Regions from separate parts of the Homo sapiens genome. Here region 2 is linked to region 1. Evidence: promoter capture Hi-C in human tissues and cell types (Jung and others, 2019). All regions are on one chromosome and are shown on one strand. The core of a region is centred on a gene start or on the middle of the fragment in contact, and the rest is flanking DNA. Distances in the headings are between cores, read along the strand shown. Region 1 holds the start of CLDN17 (claudin 17). Region 2 has its middle 58 kb from the start of CLDN17.

Evidence for each region. Contacts are between HindIII fragments. The study calls those that stand out against the background at their distance.
Region 2: a contact is called between a fragment that was not itself captured here and the fragment with the promoter of CLDN17 in region 1, in 1 of the 25 tissues and cell types used here (hippocampus).

The regions. Positions count from the first base shown.
Region 1 is chr21:30,164,582-30,169,002 of GRCh38, forward strand. It overlaps CLDN17 (claudin 17), which reads right to left and starts at 2,224. Exons shown (of 1, transcript NM_012131.3): 1 at 984-2,224. The coding sequence starts at 2,036. The coding sequence ends at 1,362. The HindIII fragment of the contact is 9,466 bases long and covers 1-4,421 here.
Region 2 is chr21:30,106,564-30,110,984 of GRCh38, forward strand. No RefSeq gene overlaps it. Among named protein-coding and RNA genes, the nearest start is that of CLDN17, 58 kb to the right of the region's middle. The HindIII fragment of the contact is 3,385 bases long and covers 333-3,717 here.

The DNA of each region.
Region 1 (4,421 bases), core at 974-3,473:
CCCTACAGCTAAATATATCAACATCATTGTAATCTATTTTATTTTATTACCATAAGGATGAAGATGCAATAAATTTTTGGTGAGCAAATTCAAGCTTCTCATTGCAATTATATACTCAAAATTAAATACATTTTTATTACAAAATAAGCACAATATTTGAAGAGTTAAAACTGAACATGTAAGCACTGATTGATTCACAAGATCTAAAAGCTATTCAGAAGCAACCCATAGGGGTGATCTTGCCTCATAAACACTCCCCACTCACTCTCACCCCACATGACCCACCACACTTTTAACCCTGATATTGATATGGGAAATGAAGAACTGAGAAAATCATGTGTGTAATTCAAGCAAAACAAAAAAACCTTCACCATACCTATTTGTTTAGTAGAGAATACAAAAAAGGTATTTATCTTAGCCTGACTAATTGTCTGAATCATTACCTTGATTCTTCGAATTGCTTAGCATGTTTATACCTGTGCAATGACTAAAGAATAAAACAAAGAAAAGAAACCATTCCCTTCAATGCCCAAACTGCAATTTTCTATTTGGGACCATATAACCTCTAGATAAGAATTGAGTGTTAATAGCCTCCCATTGATGTGTCTTATCAAGATAGATGCTTCTGTTTGCTTGACGTGCAGATGGTAGGCTATGAAAAATGTTAGTTTTCATTTATAAATTATTTTCCTTTAAACAGTAATTCTAGGCAAGTTTAACTGTATAAATTAGAGACCTTAAAATCTGTCTTCTTAATTGTCCTAAGAGAAATCAGAGCTCTCTTTTCACTAAAGTGTCTAATTTTTATTGTGTGAGTTCCTAAAGGAACAAAGCCTTTCATTAGATGGACATTTTCGTCTAATTCAACTAACGATTATTGTTTGATATCTACAATTTTCCATGATAATCTTTTTAAAAAGGTCACCATTTAGTTGTTAGTATGTAGTACAAGAAACAATGTAGAGGAAAAATAATAGGTTACATTTTAGAATAGGTATATGTTTTATTGTTATAGAATATCAATTTCAACTTTAGATTCTTATCAGATAATACATGATGGTCAAAAAGTAATAAGTAGTCCATCATTGTACACTTGCTAATGATTATGGGTATACTTGAATTTAGAATATGAAAATTGGAGCAGCGATTGGGTCCAACAATAGTCAATGCATTTAATACACCTGAAGTCAGAATGTCCAAGTAAGTCATTTTCATTCCTACCACCAGTAACAAATTGAAACTTTCGTATCAATGTAAATCTAGACATAAAGCAAGTTCTCCTGCCTCACATACTTACAGTTTCTAGCAGGACTTTATAAAAAACATTGACCATAGTCCATACTTGGAGCCAAAAGGAGGCATTAGACATAACTGGTGGAGGTCTTACTAAGCATTGTCGTATTTCTTCGCTTATCTGTGTGTGGCACACGGTAGCCAGGCACTGGATATCTGTACCCTTGCTTCTTTCTGTTGCAGCAGCAAAATCCACAAAGCAGACCCCCTCCAATGAAGAGGACAGCAGCGCTTGCCCAGCCAAGGAAAAGTGCTGCTCCCAGCTCTCGTTTCTGACCTATGTGGATGGCTGGGTTGTAGAAATCTCTGATGATTATATTGGCTGTCCAGCTCACCGGAATCAGAACGAAGATGCCCGTCAGGATGAAGAGGACTCCTGAAGTTCCCAGAAGGTATGCTTTGGCCCTCTCGTTAGAGCCTGTGCACTGGACCTGCTTCATGCCACAGATGCCAATAAGCAGGGCGATCAAGGAGAGAGCAACAGCCACACACATGAGGGCCCGGGCTGTTTCCAGGGCAGGCGGGAGAGCCAACAAGGAGCTATAGAACTTGCATTGCAACCGGACCCTGGCTTGTCGGATGCAATTCATCCAGAGCCCTTCCCAGAGCCTCTCAAAGACAATAATGTTGCTGCCAACAAAAGCTGATACTCTCCACTGAGGCAGAAGGGTTGTGGCAAGAGTCCCCACCATGCCAAGGAACCCAAGAACCAGCCCAGCAATTTGCAAGGGATAAAATGCCATTGCCTTTACTTTGAAGACTGGTTCAATTCGGAGTGGTAGAAGATGCTCAAGATGTAGAACGTGGAAGCCTTTTGAGTCTAGAGAAGTCTTTGATGATGTTCTCCTTGGCTGCTGCCCATAACGTTTTAGTCCAAATCAGTAGCTGTGACTGAACTTGGCCTAACTAGAAGTACCTGTTGTAAATGCATGTTGCCTTTTTTCATACACATTCATTTCAGTATGGATTATTTACTAGTCATATATAATTGTTTCCCAGCCAATAAGAAGGTAGCTAGGGGTGTGTCAAGAAATACTGCATTCAAGTTTAGGATTTCTCATATTATTATTGCCTTAGCAATGCTGTAATTAAGTGTCAAAGTTTCTATTGTGGATTGCTAATTACAGAGCTGAAACTTCCTGTGTAAAAATCACTCTGATATAAAAGTATAAATACATGTGTCAAGACACAGCTGAAGACAATGCCAAAATGTTGTAAGTTTATTGGGGAGTAATTAAAAAACATTTTGGACTTTATTACTTTATTCTAGTGTAAGTAAGCCACTTTTCCTTAAGATGGTAATCAATTCTGGCTTTAATAAAGATGCCTCAATAGGGAGAAATATTTAGGTATTAGTTTCAAGACACACGAAAACTGTTGATACTTAGCAGGAGCCCTAAGCAAGAAATTAACATTTCATAGTTTATTCTTAAGATCCAGAAAAGAAGAAAATAGAGAAGTACTCCTTATAATTAATTTGAATGAACTGTTAATTATTACATTAGCTGTTAAGGAACACCTCTCTCTCTATTGAAGTAATGTTTAATATGGAAACTTTCATTCAATGTTTCTTCAATGGCAGCTTGAAATAGATCACATTTATTAAAGCCAAACACATACCTTTCATTTTTATGGAACAATATAAAAGTGGCCCTTGAAATAAGCTATGCAGTCACTTAAAATTTAGACGCTAGAGAACAATTTAGTGCTGGAAGTTTATCTTCAAGGCCATCAAACTTAAGACCCTTATTTGCCAGATGAACGGGAGGTGTGCAAAGTGTTTGACTGAGACAAGCCATGTGGTAACTGATCCAGGAACAAGCCCAGCCCTGTAACTCACTATGCTTACCTCCTCTGTCTGGTCCGATTCAAAAATAGGAAGGAAAGATGCTTTTTCGAATCTTTTCATATAAGTGGGACTAAACCCAGTAGAAATTTAACACTATCCTTTCTATAGTTTTTCAAATGGTTTTCAAAGGAAGAAAAATTCAACTGAGATTATTTCAAAATTCGAGTCAAGTTGTAGCTTTTGACTGCCGCTTTCTTGCCACTCCCTAGAGGCAGTGGGGGGCTTCATGTGGGAGAAGTGGACCCTTTTCCTTTTTCTTTTACATCCCACTGGCAAGGGATCTATTCTAAGGATGAAAATGTCTCCAAAGCAAGCACGCCAACCACACTCCAGGTGGGAGGCATTACAATTTGCAAAATGTCCTCCATTTCAGTCAATTACCGGCCAAAGATTTAATGGCTGGTCCAATGACATCCAGATTTAAAGAGTCCACTCACTGAATTAATGAATGTGAAAATCACTGAGTTTTCAAAATGATTGGTCTGAGAACTCCCTCTCTAAGGAATGTGAATCATTGAGCAAACAGATGACTTCTGTGTCGTTAACAGTTTCCCAACACCGGATTGGATGAAGGGTTTCTTTGGCCCTTTGTTCATGGTTACTGAGACATAGGCTTAACCATTCCCTCCCTGACAGGATTTTCCAGCATTACTCTGATTTGTTACTTCTGGGTCCTCTTCCTTGTTCTAGTTCCTCTTCCTCATTCTACTTCAGTTTTATTCCTATGTTCATTTTGTCCTGGAAGTTTCCAGTGTTTTTTTCCAATTATTTGCTTTCTCATCAGCTAGAGCATATTATCTGTATTATAAGTGAGAACACATGTTTGTTTAAGATATGGAGATACCTCCTAAATATAAAAATAATCTGAGGCTGGGTACAGTGGTTCACATCTATAATCCCAACACTCTGAGAGGCTGAGGCAGGAGGATTTTTTGAGCCCAGGAATTTGAGACCAGCCTAGGCAAATAGTGACACCATGTTTCTACAAAAAACTAAAAATTAGCTGGATGTGGTGGCAAACGCCTGCAATCCCAGCTACTCGGAAGGCTGAGGTGGGAGGATCGCTTGAGCCTGGGAGATCAAAACTGCAGTGAGATGTGATTGCTTTACTGCACTCCAGTCTGGGCAACAGAGTGAGACCGTATTCCCAACCCCCAAGAAATGAATAACTTGAAAAACATAAATAACGTAGGAGATCTTGGTCTTTGCCTCTCACCGACAAAACCAATTGTTAAAAACATTTTAACCTTCTCTCCTTTGTATTTAGGGGAAGATACTG
Region 2 (4,421 bases), core at 775-3,274, 58 kb before region 1:
ATGGCTAAAAACTGGCAATTACTCACCAAAAATGTAATTTTAATTGTACTTTATTATGGAAAATATTATACAACTATCAAATATATTATTAAACATTTTAAAAATTTGATTAGATGTTCTGTCTTTAGCATCCAACTAAATAAAGCTTGCATGATTATTATCAGACTAAGGGAAATTTTAGTATAAACACCTGTACATCTTTAACATTTCTCTTTTTCATATAAACTTCATAATAACTATTTTCATAGTTATAATATTTTATCAAATAGATAAGATATAATTTGCTTATAATCTACCACCTCAGCCCAGGCTCACGGTGTCAAACACAGGCTAATATTTATTTATTTTGTTGACATGGATAATAATATAAAAACTATTTTTATTTATATAGTCCTTTTCCTACTTTTAGATTATAAGATAATCTCCTACAGGAGAAATTACAGTGTTAAATGTCGTAAACATGTTAAACCTTGATCAGTATTGGTACATTACTTTCTAAATACATTCAACATTTCTAAGCTTGTTTTGAATAAGGCTGTGCAAAAATAAGGTAGATAAAATGGCTGAAACTTCAATTAAGGGAATAGATGTACTATATATGGCCATAGAGAGAAAGAGAAGCTGCTTGCCTTAAGCTCTACAGAGGGCTCAACAAGCTTACACACACACACACACACACACACTCCCATTACACTATAAAGAAAAATAATCTGCATCTGATATATGGTATAGTTGTATGATAATCTTGGCAGAAATCTGGACTTAATGCTCATAAGTAGTAACATGCTAGCACTTCATTACATATTATTGACTTTGACTCATATTTGCTGCAAAAAAATATTCCAAAACCATTTGCAACTGAATAAAGCATTCAGTTTGCATGTTGGGAAAACTATTAAAAGTCGCTGCATGAAATTAAGGAAACCTCTGAGTTTATGAGGCTGCTTATCACATTTAAAGTTGACAGTATGGTTCTTAGGAGGCAGCAGAATGATTATGGTAAAACACTGTAGGTAGTAAGAGAACTTAAATGCCAAAGATCATTTTACCCAGGAAAAGAGGTAGAGAGGGAGTAATGAAACTAAAGGCTAGACCTAAAACTTCAAGCTTTATTCTTTCAGAGCAATTTCCTTTTTTTAAATGTACAGAAAAAGAAGTACTTAAAATAATTAATAGAACATTCTGTAAGTAATTCAATTATGCTAAAATTACTTTGACTGTCTCTCTGCACTCTCACAGTATTTGGGTAGGTTCACATAGGATGAAGAAGAGAATTCTAAGTCAGAATGTTAAGAGTTAATGTTTCCTTTAAATACCAGAGCTTGCCTTTGTGATTTATGAAAATGGAACAAGATTGTGGGATCTTTGAAAATAGAGTCAATATCATATTTATTCAATATTCTTTTTTTTTGACCCAGCTCTATATTTATTTAAAAGACTGTTTCTCCACTGTTCTGCAGTACGGCATTCATCATGAAGTCAGCATTCATATGTGATCAATACGTTCTCTGTTCTTTTCAACTTCAGTCAATTTGCCCATCTTTGCGTCACTATCACACTATCTTTACTTCGATAGCTCTACAGGTCTTAATATCTGGTTGAATAAATTCTCCATAGTTGTTTTTCTTTCTCAAAAATTTGTTTAACAGCTTTATTGAGCTATAACTCACATACCATAAAATTCATCTATTTAAATTATACAATTGAATTTATATGATGTATAGTTATAGATATGTGCAACCATGACTACTCCTAGTTTTAGAACATTTTCATCACCACATGAAGAAATCTTGTACTTTTAAGTTATCAGCCCCTACATTCCCATCCTTTCTCCAGCCCTAAGCAACTCTAATCTACTTTCTATCTCTATTCTGGACTTTCATATGAATGTAATTATATACTGGACTTTCATATTAATGTATATAATTAAGTAATATAATATGATTATATAATGTGTGATCTTCTGTAATCGGCTCCTTTCACTTTGCCTGGTTTCAAGGTTCATCCATATTGTACCATGTATCAGTACTTTCTTTTTTATGGAAAAATTACATTCCATTTTATCATAGTCTACATTTTGATTATCCATTTATTCGTTGATGGACATTTGAGATGTTTCTACCTATTGGCTATTAATACTGAATAATACTGTTATAAACATATGTGTACGTGTTTTCATTTGTACATATAGGTTTCATTTCTCTTGGGTATGTACGAAGGACGAGAATTGCTGGGTCATATGGTAGCTCTATGTCTAATTGTTCACAGAACTGCCAGATGTTTTTCATCCCCATTTCCCAGCAACAATGTATAGGGACTCAATTTCTTTATATCATCACAAACACTTGTTATTATCTACTTTGATTCTAGCCATCCCAGTTCGTAAGAAGTATTATCTCATTGTGGTTTTTATTTGCATTTCTCTGATGACTAATGTTGTTAAGTATCTTTTTATGTGCTTATTAGCCAGTTGTGTATCTTCCTTGGAGAAATGTCTATACAAATACTTTGCACTTTTTAAATTGTGTTTTTAATTATTGAGTTGTAGAGTTCTTTGTATATTCTGGATATAAGTTTTCTATCATATATAATTTGCATATATTTTCTATTATTTGGATTGTCTTTTCACTTTCCTGACAGTGCCTTTTGAAAAACAGAAGTTTTTAATTGTGATAAAGTCCAATTTTTCTATTTTTTCTTTTGTTGATTATGCTTTCGGTGTCATATCTAAGAAACTTTTGCCAAATGTAAGATCATAAACATTTACCCATGTGTCTTTTGTCTTTTTCATTCTTGCATACAAATATAATTTCTTACATAATTAAAATATGCTTAATGCATGCATATTAAAAATGTAATTACTAGAACATCAAAGAGGATGAATGTTAAAAGTATGTTAATTGCCACTGTAGAATATTCAGGTTGTTTTCTGTGTTTAACTACTCTTATACGAAAAAATATAAGGGTTCAGGTATATTGCTAGTATGCTTTGGTCTTCTTTACCAAACCTTCAATTAGATGAAAATAATTTGTATAACCCCCAAGCTAAAAGATTCAAAATAGTATTTTCAAAATGTGAAAGCTTAGTTTTGTTAACTTAATTTTCCTTAAAAGCATCACAATGAATTCATTGATTTTTCTAAAAAAAAAACTCATTCCTTGGACTATGTTAACTTTTAAAATGTTTACTAAAACCAGTGTGTTTAATAAGAGCATGACTTACATAATTTATTTAATCCCTATTAGTATATTATTCCTGGATTTCTCTTAAAAATAAAAGCAAAATTATTTAAGTTATAAACATGTTATAAACATATGTGTACTTTTTTTTGTACATTGTCATTTTTATAATCTTATTTTCAGGTTATATTAGGGTTTATTCATTTTGGGGTAAGAAGGCATAAAATATAAGAAAGCAAAAATTATAAAAAAGATGGGTGAATGAATGAATAGCTGATACCATGAAAGAGGGAATAATCCATAAATTATATAGATATATATATTCTTAAGTAATTAAACTTATGAGAGTATTTTTTCCTCTGTCCAATTTCATTTACATTTGGATAAATCTAACTGGAAAGCACAGTTTATGAATTTTACTGTACAGCAATGAGCAACTAGATTGTAAAAGATAATAAACTCAACACATAGCCTATCCCATGTCAGAATCAGGTTTAATGTTGAATGTTGCATTTTAAAAATGACAAATTCAAATAAATATTTACAAAGAAGGATTGACAGAATGTAAACATTCTAGAAAATATTTTATAGAGGAAGAGTTGAAGAAATAGGAGTGTTAATGTAACTAATAGATGACTTCAGGAAACATAATGGCTCTTTTACATTTTTGAAGAATAGCCCAATAGAAGATTGAGTTATATTCATAACTAAAGAGAATTTAGAGTTAATACATAAAAATTATAAAACGATGGTTTTGCCAACATAAAGATTTTTATAATATTTTCCAAAGTTGTAGAGTGACTCAGGTTGCAGAAACAAGACTCTGAACTCTTCTACATAGATATTCTTACGTAGTGTGTGATGCTTCTGACCAGGCGGCGTTGGTGTTTGTTCCACCCGTAGGCCCTAGGATTCCATAACACGTTGTTGTTAGATCCTCCGTTAAAATGTCTGAAGACACATAGAAATGAATTGTTTCAGTCACTATTTTTCTGAAAGTGAAACCACATTACTGAAATATATTATTTTTTGTCCTATATGAGGCACAATACCATGACCACCTGTTCGTAGAATGCATCTAACCCAGTCTTTGTTATTTACGGGGTTTGATGATACTTCTGATGCAATTGAAGAGGTGAAAAAAATGTTCTATATTTTCAGTGCCAATGAAGCTTAAAATAGTTGGAATTTTATGAAGTACTCAGTTTTCTGACAAGAACCCGCTGAAGAGTCTCCTTAGT